Linked DNA regions of Homo sapiens: all the other regions are linked to region 1. The links are contacts of gene promoters, found by promoter capture Hi-C in blood cells and fetal thymus (Javierre and others, 2016). All regions are on one chromosome and are shown on one strand. The core of a region is centred on a gene start or on the middle of the fragment in contact, and the rest is flanking DNA. Distances in the headings are between cores, read along the strand shown. Region 1 holds the start of TSPAN33 (tetraspanin 33). Region 2 has its middle 6.6 kb from the start of KCP. Region 3 overlaps TNPO3 (transportin 3).

The links. The method cuts DNA at HindIII sites, captures the fragments that hold promoters and counts their contacts. A CHiCAGO score of 5 or more calls a contact.
Region 2: a fragment that was not itself captured here is called in contact with the fragment with the promoter of TSPAN33 in region 1 in 3 of 17 cell types (naive B cells, endothelial precursors and total B cells); the score reaches 7.4 in naive B cells.
Region 3: a fragment that was not itself captured here is called in contact with the fragment with the promoter of TSPAN33 in region 1 in 1 of 17 cell types (total B cells); the score reaches 5.2 in total B cells.

Annotation. Positions count from the first base shown.
Region 1 is chr7:129,143,457-129,147,979 of GRCh38, reverse strand. It overlaps TSPAN33 (tetraspanin 33), which reads right to left and starts at 3,273. Exons shown (of 8, transcript NM_178562.5): 1 at 2,898-3,273. The coding sequence starts at 2,999. RefSeq lists an enhancer at 239-288 and a silencer at 3,151-3,360. The HindIII fragment of the contact is 19,696 bases long and covers 1-4,523 here.
Region 2 is chr7:128,915,049-128,919,571 of GRCh38, reverse strand. No RefSeq gene overlaps it. Among named protein-coding and RNA genes, the nearest start is that of KCP, 6.6 kb to the right of the region's middle. The HindIII fragment of the contact is 4,905 bases long and covers 1-4,523 here.
Region 3 is chr7:128,953,147-128,957,669 of GRCh38, reverse strand. TNPO3 (transportin 3) reads left to right here. Exons shown (of 23, transcript NM_012470.4): 22 at 355-446; 23 at 2,285-3,485. The coding sequence ends at 415. Among named protein-coding and RNA genes, the nearest start is that of IRF5, 17 kb to the right of the region's middle. The HindIII fragment of the contact is 734 bases long and covers 1,973-2,706 here.

The DNA.
Region 1 (4,523 bases), core at 2,024-4,523:
GTCAGTAACCCAGCAACATGATTCTGGGAAGAAAATCAGAACTCCCAGGTCAAAGGGGAAGTGAGATTTGAAACATGAACAGTAGGAACTGGTCCCAGTCCCCCAAAATTCATTAGTTTTCTGAGTCAGACTCCAAATGCCCCAAGAGTCAGGGCTTCTAGAGCAACAGCAGACGTAGCCACCATCACCACCAGCACCACTATTCAGAGCCCAGAGGATGCCGGACACCTTCCTAGTGGGTTCCAGGCACAGACACAATAACCACTGCCATGCGGCAGCTCCAGAAGCCGGCCAGAGCATGCACTCTGCCTGCAAAGGGTGTGGGCTGACCATCATCTCATCCATAGGTGCTTCCTGGGCAGAAGAGCAGAATTTGATTAGGATGGTGGAAGTCTACAAAAAAGAAAGCATGGGAACCAGTCCCTGAAGAGGAGCTAGGAAGAAAGATGGCCCCCTGATCTGGGGAGGCAGCATTTTCTCTCCAGCTGCTCTTGTATGAATATACCTGTGCAGCACTGGGTTTGGGGGAGAAGGGACATTCAATAACACCTGAAAAGTACTGTCCCCTAGGAAGGGCAATCAGGACACAGGGAGATTCATCCTTAGATCCAGCTCTAGGTCTTGAAGAAAGAAAACAGTCCCCAAAATGATTCATTCATCCTTAAATAGTTCACTGAGGCAGAAATTGTTTCTCCTTTAGAGGAGAAAGATTAAGGTCAGAGAGACAGATACATTGGCTTAGGGTCACACAGTAAGTTGGTGCCAAAAAGATGCTGAGCCTCTTGTCTTTCAGTGTGCTATTTCTAGAGCCTCTGATTTTTTATGAGTCTACTGTAGGGCCAAGAAGGGGCTCTATTCTAATTTGGGGTGGTGCTAGCTTGGCCACCCACGTCTTCTGACCTTGAATGAAGCATTTTTACCAAGGTAAATGGGTCTGTGGAGCCAAACTCTCTCCTGGCTGAGATCTCTCAAAGTCGTTTGTCCGATAAAAGGGGGGTAGGGTGGAGGTAGGGGGTAGGGAAGCTCGAGAAAAAAAAAATGACCAGGAACACAAGTGTAACAGATGCACCCAGCTGTTGTCACTGGCGAGCACAGACAAGGGTGAGGTACCAATGGCTCCAAGGGAGACAGTCTCGGCAGATAAAGGAAGTCAGAGTGACGACCTAAAGTCCCTGAAATGCTAGTGCTGGCTCCGAGGATGTCACGTCACTGGCCTGGCACACTCAGTGAGCACAGAGACTTCACTGATACTTGCCCCTAAGTGGGGAGTCTCTTAGTACATCCCCCAGCACTGGTAGAGTGGTAAGGGATTTTCTTGTGTTTTTCCCTAACCTCCAGCTGAAGCAGAACCTAGACTATGGGAACTTGGGTTGACTGGTTAACTACTAATACTGCCCATACCCCAGCTATAGCAGCAGCCATCTGTGCTGAGGACTTCCCCCAGCGGCACTGTGGTTCAGTAGAAAGGTCACCAGACCAAGCCTGCTAACCAGCTGTTGGACCTTGGACAAAACATTTAACATCTCTGTGCTTTAGTTTTCTACATTTTATAGACATAAACACAGATGCTGGACAAGATGTCTTCTAAAATTTTTTTCCAGTTTTACAACTGAGCATTTGATAGGAGCACAAGTTTCATTTTCCCCAGGAGTAGGATGGCTGAGTGCGCTGTCATCACCACCCTATGGGATTTCTCTCATTTGTCCCAACAGGCCAGCACTTATGGGCTTTGTGTCTGCACCTCACCCCACGGGCCCTGTGAAACCTTTCCAGCAAATGGCTTAGATGTCTGTTCTGCTCCCTCCCCTAGGAAACATATTTTAGACTCAATTCTTCCCTCCTGCAAGTCTGAACTTTAGGTCTCCAGCTGAAGTGGGCAAGGATGGTGGGCTCCAGAAGCAGCAGCTCTGGTGTGGTAGGAGCCAGAAGAGGAGGTGAATGGGGGAAGGATGTCCCTATGTTCTCACACCCCAGGACCTCCAGGACTCTCTAGCCAGGAAACAGGGTCGAGCTGGCATTGCATGATCTGGTTCAGCTCAATTCTCAGCTTCAGCAGTCTTTCTGCCACCCCTGATCACACTGGGTTGGATTTGTGGGGGAGGGAGTCAAGGCCTGCAGACATGAACATACATGCTTAGGTCGGTCAAGTCAACAATGAACGGCAGAGTGGGATGGGAATCCAGGTGTCCGGAGTCCCAGCCCAATACTTTTTCCACCCCAAGCAGAAGATTCTGAAAGGACCCCTGGCCCTCCGGCCCAACACGGGGTCCTGTTTAAAGACACTGGTGATTGCCAGGCTCCAGGGGTGAAGTCTGGTCCTGAGAAGGGTGGCAGGGAGGGGACAAAGTTTGGGGCAGTGCTGGGATGGGAAAGACATCTGCACCTGGAGGCCATTCTTCCTAGACTTTGGGGGGGTGGAGGTGGGGGTAGATGAGGCCTGCAAAAGGAAGAGATGATGCCAGTAACCCATCCTCTCTGAGGTGGTGGAGAGAGAGGTTTGGGTTTTTCCTTCCTCTTCTTTCTTTGCCAGCCGGGCCTCCAGGCCCCCAGGCCTGAAAGTCAGCCGCCACCCCCGACCCCCATCATGAATGTGTCAGTGGGTCCGCCTTGGGCCAACAGGCTCCCTCAAACCCACATTTCTAGCCTAACACAGACCCTCCTCCGACGCCCCGAGAATACCCATCAGTCTTTACTGATTCCCTGGCATACCCTCCTCCCTACAACGCCCCCTGCAGACGCGGCGTCCCCGGGGTGTCCCTCCCCAGGATAAATTCCCCCAAAGTGCCGTCAGCCCAGAAAACTCGGCAGTGCGGCTCCCGCGCGTGGGGCACCCCGGGCCACCCTTCCACCCCGCGGGGGGACCCCGCCGCCCAGGTGCCCTCGACCCCGAGACTCACCCAGAAGAGCATGTTGAAGAAGAAGAGCAGGTATTTCACCAGCGGGCTGACGAAGGAGAACTCCTCCCCGGAGGCGGCCGGCGCCCGGGGTCTCCGCGCCATGGCCCCGCCGCCGCCACCGCCCCCGGGGGCCTATTTCCCAGCGGCTGCCGGCCGGCCTGTGTGCCCCGCGCCCGGGGGCATGAGCCGAGCCGCGCCGCGCAGGAGCCCGGCCGGCGGGGGAGCCTGCGCTGCGGCGGGAGGCGCCCGAGCCGGGGGGCCGGGAGCGGCGCGGGCCGGGGAACCGCGCCTGGAGCTGCTGGAGCCGCGGTGGGCAGCGCGAGCGGACGAGACTCACCCGCGGCCGCAGGACCAGCCCGGCCAGCCAGGCGCCCAGGAAACCCGGCCCGCCCCCGGCCGCTCATTGGCGCGACGGCTGGAGCCCGACTTCCCATTGGCTCGTGGCTGATGTCACTAAGTATCCAGCCATCCCTCTCCACCGAGAGTCGGGGGAGACACCTGTTCTGTGAGGGATAACTTGTTAAAGGGTCAGCGGTTCTGCCTCTCCCCTACCCCTAAGGGAAAGCATCCAGGCTGCAGCTGCTCAAAGGAACAAGAGTGAGGAGAAGGAATGCACAGTGCATCCCACACCCACGTCCTCCGCCCAGCTGCTGTGCACATATGCAAACACACATACATTAAAATCAACAAGTACGCACACCGTGTGTTGAGCAATGCGCCGAAAGCTCTGGGAACGCGGGAGAACAGAAACAATCCCTGGGGGATGACAATAAAATCAGGGAGACAAAACTAACCTACACATAACAATTAGACCAAGGGTAGATGCAATCTTGTTTAGTAACTATACATTTTAAATGCTTATTTCAGAAGCTCTACAACCCAACAGTGGAAATTTGGAAACATCACCGCCAATCCCGCCATCCTAATTCATTGCTGTCTCAATTCCCGCCCCCGCAGCCCCTCTTCCCTTGGTCTACTTGCAGACACCGTTTTTAACATGCTGATCCGGCACACACAGGTTGAGTGCAGCGTAGCTGGCGAATATATTATGCTGGCTACCCTAACTAATACAAGTTGAACCTCGGGGAGGGAATCTGATTCCACCATAATTAGCTGCGTGAAAGCTGCAAGCTACTTAATCTCTCGGAGCCTCAGTTTGTTTAATGTTAAATGGGAGAGTCCTGACCTAGATGGCGATTTGAGGATTAAATGAGATAATGCATGTAGCTCACTTAGCACATGGCTGGCACATGGAAGGCTCATCAAAGGCATTACAGTATTTCGTTTTAGCAGAATTAAGAATCCAGTGTGGAAATATGATAACCGCACAAATAATTATAATACGTTTGGTAGAAGGTTAGTGAAGATAGCGTGGCAAGTGAAATTAGGGGAGGATGGGATTTAGAATAGTAGAGACGGAGGGGAAACATAATCCAGGTGGATTAAAAAAAAAGGGGGTGAACCAAAGCCTGGAGGTGCAAAAGCACGCCATGTGTTTCGTGCAAAATAAGCAGACTGCTGTGGCTGGAGCACAGGGTATGCTTGGAATAGCAGTGGGACATAATGCTGACCGATGCCGTTACATGTGGAATTGTGTTAAAACTGCGGAAGTAATTGAATATCAGA
Region 2 (4,523 bases), core at 945-3,444, 230 kb after region 1:
GCGTCTCTCCTGAGGTCCTGGCTGCAAATCTACCTCTCTCATTTTGGAATTTCTCTGATGCACAGCATTGGATACCCTCGGGAACCCATGTGGGCACTGGCTCATGCATAACTGGGAGCAAGCTAATGCCCTGGGGGCCTCCCAGTGCCGATGGCTTCTACTGCCTGCCTGCCTTTCACATGGCTCCCCAGGTCCTGCAGGACCGGATGCTGATGCCCACCGCAGTGGTCGGCTCCATTGCATAATGCACCCTTGTATTGGCTCTCCATCCTTCCCAGTTTCACACTTCCAATCCTCCCTCCTGCTCCTGGGGATCATATTCCAAAATCAGCCTGCATGCAAGCCTTTGTCTCAGGCTCTGATTTCCAGGAACCCAGGCTAAGACAATCGTTTTTTATTTGTTTGTTTGTTGTTGTTTTTGTTTTGTTTTGTTTTTGAGACAGTCTCACTCTGTCACCCAGGCTGGAGTGTAGTGGCACTAATCTCGGCTCACTGCAACCTCCATCTTCTGGGTTCAAGTGATTCTCCTGCCTCAGCCTCCCAAGTAGCTGGGATTACAGGTGCCCGCCACCACACCCGGCTACTTTTTGTATTTTTAATAGAGACAGAGTTTCGCCATGTTGGCCAGGTTGGTCTCGAACTCCTGACTTCAGGTGATCCACCCACCACAGCTTCCCAAAGTGCTGGGATTACAGGCATGAGCCATCACACCCAGTCTGACAATCCTTAACGAGAGCAAAGACAGAAGTGCTCTTATTACCCCTGTTTCGTAGGGGAGGACCTGAGACTTAGGTTCAATAACTTGCCAAGATCATATGGCAAGTAAGGGGCAGAACCATTGGAAGGTTAAAAAAAAAATGCTCCTCTCAGGGAGGGGGAGAACGATTTGCCAAGAGATTGTAGGAGGATTTCTGGCAATGTCCAGTGCTCATTGATATTTGTGGCCACGAGTCTGCCATGGAAGCAATGGAGTGGTGAGATGCTGTCCAGCAATATTCAGGGGCTCTGACAGAGGCATGAAGAGGGCAGGTGGGGGTGCTGGGGTGTGGGACTGGGCAGAGCAGGGGGTGAGCTGGGCAAGAAGCAGCTGAGAGTCACAGTGACCAGGGATGGCGAGGAGGCTAGGACTTCTCATGACGATAACATTTCTAGGGAGAACACCTAGTAGGTCGTGCCAAGGATAGGGCCAGGCTACTTGGCTGGAGGTCAGTGTGGACAGGCCTGGCCAGGCCCCAGGATCCTAAGGACCTCAAATTGATTCCATTCTCTACAGCTTATTCCCACTGTGACTCTGAGCTTATGCTAAAAAATTGTGCTGTTTATTTGAAATTCAAATTTAACAGGACATTCTGCATTTTTATTTGCTAAATCTGGCAACCCTATCCCGCCATGAGCCAGTAACACCTCCCTGCATAGCCATGACCTCCTCTTCCTCCCAGCTCTCTTCATGTCCCTGGCACCACTGCTATCCTAGTGTCCCAAGCTCGGCCTCCACTATTCCAGGGGATCCAGCCAGTCACCGGCTCCTGCCCGTCCTTTAGAAACATCCCCCTTTCTCCAGCCCACTGCCATCCCTGGCTCCATGCCTAGACAACTGCTGTCACAGCCCCGACGCCTCTGTCTGCATCTAGCCCCCACCAGGTGAATATTCCTCAAGCGCCCCCTTGACCATGCCACAGGCTGCTTCAGCCTTCAATACCCCCCACTGCCCATAGAAAAAAGTCCTAATTGCAAGGCTTACAGCAGCCTGTTCCCACTGGCCTTCCCACATGGACTTCCTGCAACCCACCTCTCTCCACCCTGTCCTTGTGCCCAGAGGACCCTCACGTACTCCTTCTCCTTCAGGTGGAACCCCACTTTCCCATGAAGACCCAGCTCAAAGGACCCATTGTCTGTAAAGGCCCCCTGACTGCCCAGCCTCGACGGGCTTCCCCTGCCTCCTGTGCCCTCCTCTGGCAAAATACACACTGCACTGCCTTCTACACCTCCTCTTAATCTGCTCATTGGGTCTTCAATCTTGTGGTAGCTTGGCTATGAGCTTATCTTCTCAACTAGATTGGAGGCTCCCTGAGGGCAGGAAAAAGATTTTGTGCCTGTTTCCCCATGGTCTCTGGCTCAGTCCCAGGCCAGAGCCAGTATCTGCTGACTTGTGTATGGGTTCTGCACTCCCCTGGCCACTGTCAGGAGTGAGTGGGTAGGCACCCCTGGGCATGTCCCAGGCTCGCTGACTCTCAGGTGGCAGGCCGTGGCTGTGGACATGCAGGAGATGGGGCTGAGGCTGGCAGGAGGCTGACCTGGCTCACAGTGCAGGCAGCATGCTCCTGGCTCAGGGCAGGGTCCTCTTGGGCATGGCTTCTGGTTGCAAGTGATGGTCCCTTCCTGTGGGAGCAGACTGAGGTGGCTGCACAGGCATCAGAGCCCTGGAGGGCAGGGCCTCTGGAAGCAAAACCTCAGCCCAGGCGGGGACATGTCATAGGGGCAAGAGGATGAGTTGGCTCTGTGGATGTGGGCTACCCTCTGTGTAAAGGCAGAAAAGAGACATCCTGCCCCAACCCGAGTCGTCTCTTGATGTTTTTTGTTTTGTTTTGTTTGAGACAGGTTCTCAATGTATTGCCCAGGCTAGAATACAGTGGCTCCATCATGGCTCACTGCAGTCTCGACCTCCCCATCTCAAGTGATCCTCCCGCCTCAGCCTCCAGAGTAGCTTGGGACTGCAGGCGCTCACCATGACGCCTGGCTAATTTCTTTTTATTATTTTTGTAGGGACTGGGTCTCCTTATGTTGCCCATGCTGGTCAGCTTCTGGACTCAAGCAATCCTCCTGCCTGGCCTTCCCAAAGTGCTGAGATTACAGGCGCAAGCCACCACCTGGCATCCTAATGCTCTTGACCCGGGAAACCATCTCTTTCAGGTGCCAGAGCTCAACGATAGCATGGACTGGGGAAGACCTGCGGACCCTTCAGAGCTGGGGGGAGTCGGGGGGCGGGGCGCGGAGCGGAATTTGAGGTTATGGAATTACTATTTCCCTGTTCCAGACTGCCGAAGAAGCCCAGTGGTCGTCTAGGCCACCGCGCTATCTGTCTGGCGTCTCCTTACAGGCCCTGGGCCTGGCCCAATGCTCCCTCCAGGTCAGTAGTCACCGGTAAGTGCCAGCCTCCTCGAGTGGTCCCTCCGGTCGGGGCCGGCGCGGTGCAGAAGAACCCAGCGCAGCCCGGGCAGAGTCAGCTCGGCCCCGCCGCCCCACCAGTGCTCAAGGGCGCAGCCACGCAGGAGCATCGCAGACAGGTGGGTCCCGGCCGCCGCTCTCTCCTCTCCGCGTCCCCGCGTCCCCGCGTCCCCGCGTCCGGAAGGTGGTGGGAGCGGTACCGGCTGTTGCCCACCCACAAGTCTAGGCCTCAACCAGGGCCCGCGCCCCTCAGGCACCTGCGGGCGACCGGATGAAGACTGGAGTAGGGCGGGGTCCGCGTCCAGCTGCGCCTGGAGACCGAGCTTCGGTGGGTGCCTACAGCAGGGCGCGCCCCGCCGGCCTGGGACCTCCCAGGCGCCCCTCACGCCCCGATCCGTTTGAGGTGCTGGCGCCCAGGGAACCCCAAGGCCCAGGCGGCGAGGTCGGCACCGCAGCTGGGGGCGCAGGCTCTGCTGCTCCCACCCCCCCACCCCCACCCCGCCATCGCCCAGAATGGGGGCTCCCAGGCGCCCTGCTGGAGGCTGGCTTGGTCCACAGAGGAGCGAGGCCCGATCCTTACTTTCGATGCACTCGCCCTCGCTCTTCCCGGGTCACCCTAACCCTTTCGGAAAAAAAGGTGGAGGTTTAAAGCGTTCATCCCCCGGGATCTTCAGGCCAATGGCAGGAATTGTGCAAGAGTTTGGGGGAAGATAGTGTCAGGTAGAGGCTCCGTCCGTCCCTGGGCTCGCGGCCGGGAATGGTAGACGCCGGCCCCCAGAGCAGCGGAGAAGGATGGGGCGCAATAGTTCCTGGGCTGGTTTCTGTAGGTCTTGTCCCAGAACTTAAGAAGGCAACAATGAAGAGGCTGAACGTGGAGGAAAAGTGAGACTAGCATGGCTGGGATTTGGAGGAAGATGGCGAGGACCAGCGCTGGCCTTGAGCGGTTGTCTCCGGACCCGGGAGGGCGGGAGCAGGTGCCCGGGAGCAGAGGCGGGAGTGGGGGACTTTCCCCAGCCTCGCGGCCCCGCTGGACACAGCAGGGCGAGGACCGGGGTGCTGCTCTAGCAGCCGAGGAGCGTCCCTGGGGGTGAGGGTGGCTCCACGGGCTGGCCCAGGGGGTGTGCCCCCGCGGAGCCAGCGGGAGGGGTGGGGGCGGAGGGGAGGGGGGAGGGGGGCGGAGGGGAAGCGGGGAGCGGGGGCAGAGGACTGGAGTGGGCCTGGGCCCCCGTGGACCCAGTCCCCAGGGCCTGAAAGTGCACCGGCTGTGTCCACAGAGAAAACTGTCAAGACCTCCCCTCCCCCTACCTCCATCCTCCCCCTACCCCGTAGCTGTCGGGCCTGGGGCTGGGGCTGAGGGG
Region 3 (4,523 bases), core at 1,090-3,589, 190 kb after region 1:
TGGACGATTTTAATCCTCTAAACAGTGTTATGAAGTAGATAATATTAATAGATGAGGAAACTGAGACAAAGATTGGTAACTTGTTCAAGGGCACAGTGGAGCCAAGATTCAAACTCGGGCAGTTTGTGTCCAGAGTACACCCTTTGAAGACCACCAAGCTTATAACTTTTCTCATATATAATAATTTTTGCCCTGAATTACAGAAAGATCTGAAGCCAGGATCGCTCAGGAGACGATGGAGAGAGCTCCTAGCAGAGTTGGGACGGTTCTCAGTGTGCCCCAATGTTGCAGTTGTTTTTCAGCATATTCTGTCTTTCTCCTCAGTCAAGGACCAACCTACCTTTTCTTTTCTAGTGCTGAGGAATGTAAACAAGTTTGCTGGGCCTTGCGAGACTTCACCAGGTTGTTTCGATAGCTCACACTCCTGCACTGTGCCTGTCACCCAGGTGAGGATACATAGTTCCCAGCTTTTGTCCGGACTGTCGGACTGTTGGGGATGCCTGGGAATGGGGATAGGTTTTAATGCCTATCATGGGACCAGTCTTATAGCTAGAGTCAGGGAAGGACTCAGCAGTTTAACTGTGGTGAACAGCTGGAATATACAGGGCCCGGATTTTCTTGGGCCTGGGCAGCCAGTAATTGTCAGTGTCTTTGGGGTACCATTTTCACCTCCATAAGAAAGTAACTGTTACACAGTGCATTGAAACATTTTCTTCCCCCTTCCCCTTACAGACACTTCTAAGATGGTAAGTGTACATGGCAACAAACAAATAAGTATTTTTAACCTGGCCACTTTGGCGAAAACAACCTCAAGTTGACTGTTATATGTGGTGCCAGTCTCCTAAAACTGACCCTCCAGATGTAATGAGCAAAGAGCTTATTCTTATCACTTTTATGACCTGAATGCTGAAGTGCCAGGTTTTGACCAGGGCAGGAGGTATGAATTGAATATCCCTTATCCGAAATGCTTGGGATTTCGGAGGAAAAAACACTTTCAGAAGTGTTTTTCAATTTTGGATTTTTTGGGATTTTGGAATATTTGCAGAATGCACACCAGTTGAGCATTCCTAATCCAAAAATCCAAAATCCAAAATGCTCCAATGCTCATTCGCTTGAGGGTCATATCAGCGTTCAAAAAGTTTCAGCTGTTAGGGATGCTTGGCCCTTACAGGAGAGGAGGAGCATCTTTGGCTCCCGATGAGCACTTTTCTCCACGTGCTTTCCGTCTCCTGGTTCTGAAGCAAAGCAAGAAGCTTAGCTGAAAGGAGTGGGTAGTAGAATTTGGGTGCCAGTTTCTTGATGGAGAGAAGAAAGGTAGCTCTCCTCTAAGCCCACCCTTTGATGTCTCAAGGTGAGTTTCTTCTCCCAGGAGGCAATTCTTGATGAATCTGTAGCACTCACTGGTAGTTTCTGTGTTAAATGCATTCATAGGTAAAAGTGATGTTCAGCAGTGCCTTGCCACACCCAAAATCATTTCTCAACTTTGATTGTTTTAATGAGTAATAATATCATTTGGGATGTCCTGGTTTTGCATGGTGTCTGGGTTAGCTGACATTGATACACCTCATAAGGTTGCTCATGGACAGCTGTAGGTGTTCATGGTTAACTTTTATTGTGCCCTTACTGTGTGTCAGGGCACTGTTTTAAGTGTTTTAGATGTATTAACTAAGATAATCCTCATCTGCTTTTCTGGATTTGTTACTATTTTTCCCATTTTACAAATGAGGAAATTGAGGTTCAACAATGTTTAACAATTTGCCTGACAGTTATTCGTGGAGCCAGAATTCACATGTAGATATTCTGGTACCAGAGTCCTCACTTTGAACCACTCCGCTTAATACAGTATCCTTTCGATAGCATCTAAATTGGTGTTTTGTTTTGTTTTGTTTTCAACTGTTATTAGTAGGCAAAGCCTTCTTTCAAAATAAAATCGACATGAAGCCTGTGGGATTTAGCAGACTGAGGCAAAGCTTCCCTGGTTGCTTTGGAATGGGAGGCCTGGACCTGCTGGCTCTTTGCCCTCCTGACACATCATCCCTTGTTTCCACAGCACACTCAGCATTGGAAGCACACTGCAGACGGTGTCTCATTAAAGCAGTAGCTCCCTTGAACCCACAAGTTAAAACGCCAGACTTTTATTTATTTGTTTATTTTTTCTGAGTTCTTATTGGCAGACTTCAGAATGAGGTACCTGAGGAAATATAGAAACCTCTGCCTTAAGGTTGATTTTACTAAATGCTCTATTTTCTGGTGCAGTTATTGACTGTCTTATCTCTTTTGTCAGGAATGTCTTTTTTAATTAGAAGACAGGAAGAAAACAAAAACCAGACTGTGTCCCACAATCAGAAACCTCCGTTGTGGCAGAGGGGCCTTCACCGCCACCAGGGTGTCCCGCCAGACAGGGAGAGACTCCAGCCTTCTGAGGCCATCCTGAGGAGTTCCTGTTTGGGGGTGTGAGGGAAAATCAGCGCGGATTTTAAAAAGATGGCTGTGGCCTGCCCGGCGTGGTGGGAGGGGAGCTGGTTTCCTGGTGAACTTTCTAAAAGGAAAAATAATTTTAAGTAAAGAAAAAAGAAAAAAAAGGAAGACTAAACAGAAACCAGAACTGAAACATTCACCTGGTAGCAAATGACACATGCACGCACACACACATACACGCACAAGCGCCAGTGCGCACGTGTACACAGAAAAACAAAAGGACAAGCTTTCTGTGAAACAAAATATTTACTTAGGGATAATGTGGGGATTCACATGAATTAAATAGCTGCAATTGGAAGAAGAGGGTCAGGGTCATTTGTTCAGGTTTTCTATTGTTTTGTCCTCTCTTTCCTCTCCTACCCTTCCTTCTCTTTCTCTCTCCCCTCCTTTTAAATGCAAATGAGTAGAAATTTCTTCTACCTTCCCCAGCTGTTTCTTCCCACCTTTAGAGTTGTTTAGACAAGGAGGAGTAAGCAAGGAACTTGTTCTGCTTTCTATCGTGGTCACATTGGTGATGCTCGGGACCTGCCAGGGTCAGAATTTATGGATATCTGAACCCTGACCCCGTTCATTCTCTCAGTCCACTTCCAATCCACATCAGTTTGTTGTCTGCCTTGGAGAGAAGAGCCAAAACTGGGGTGGGCGGGTGGGTGGGGAGTGCAGGATATAAATGTGTAAGTTTTTGTTTTTTAAGGTTTTTTTCTTAGTGAATTATTCACCCACAGACATGAGAGAAAAAAAGAGGGAGGGTGTGTGGAGAAAAAATGTTTACAGGGCTAACAAGGGATGATGTGTCATTTAGTATGTTACTAAAAAGTGTGGAAATGACTTGATTTTAAGGGGAGGGTGAGGCCGAAGAGGGAAGCCCAAAGCAGATCTTAATGTTTCAAAGGAGTGCAGCCCTTCACAGCCATCAGATATGAGGGCACTGTTCTGTCTGGTGTTGTAGCCATCTCAAGAACAAATCAACAGCAACAAAAGAGAAAGAATAAATTTTTAAAATTTAACCAGTGTTTCTTTGTTTTTACTTTCATTCACTGCCTTGTAGCTCGGAAATGGTTCAGCTAGACTAGCTATGGAAGCAGCCTTTGGTACCTGATAGACATCTGGGGATGGAGTTGAAAGGGCAGGCCCCTGCCCTGATGCCACAGACCCTTCAGACTTCAGGGAAGTGGTTCATTCTGCACTTTTTATTCTCCTAATTCACACCAAAGCTCATCACGCTTACATTTTACCCTTTTGTGTAGCCTCAGTGGGAAAGGGAGTTGGGTTACTCTTTCAGTTAAACAGTGTGGTATGGTTTTTCTACTATGGCCACCCAAGTAGACAGTTTCCTGACCTGCAGATTTATTGGTCTTTAAAAAAAAAAACTTTATTGAAGTATCATTAACATAATTTGCATGTGTTTAAGGTATACACTTTGATAAGCTTTGACATAAGATACATCCATGAAACCGTTATCACAATCAGGGTAGTGAACATACTCTTTATTTCCAAAAGTTTCCTTGAACCCCTAGGTAATACCTGTTTCCTCCCTCTTCCCATCCATCCCCATTTCCACATAACCACTGGTTTGTTTTCTATCACTGTAGATTAGTTTGCATTTTCCTGAGTTTTTAATAAATGGAATCATAACAGTCTGTTATGGCAATTGGGCTTTGAGCTAATACCTGCAGAGCTGTATTCTAATGTGATAGATCTGGCAGTGTTGTTGATATACTGACACTTCTCTGCCTTTTCTTTGCCTGTCACTTTAACTTTTTCACTCCTGGGCATAAATCCTCAAGCTACAGAACAATAGGAATTGGTGAAACAAATCTTCCAGCATAACATCAGTGGTACACAGGGTTTTAATCTCTAAAGAGGCAATATTAGAAGGAGAGAAAAAAACTTGAGTGTTTATAGAGTGATATCAGATTCCAGGGATCAGCACATTACCCCAGCCATCCCTCTCATGTTCTGGCTAAATAATAAAACCTTTAAGTTTTGTCCAACCATAGGTCCTTGAAATAACCAGTTGATTTTGCTCTGTTTAAGGAATTTGG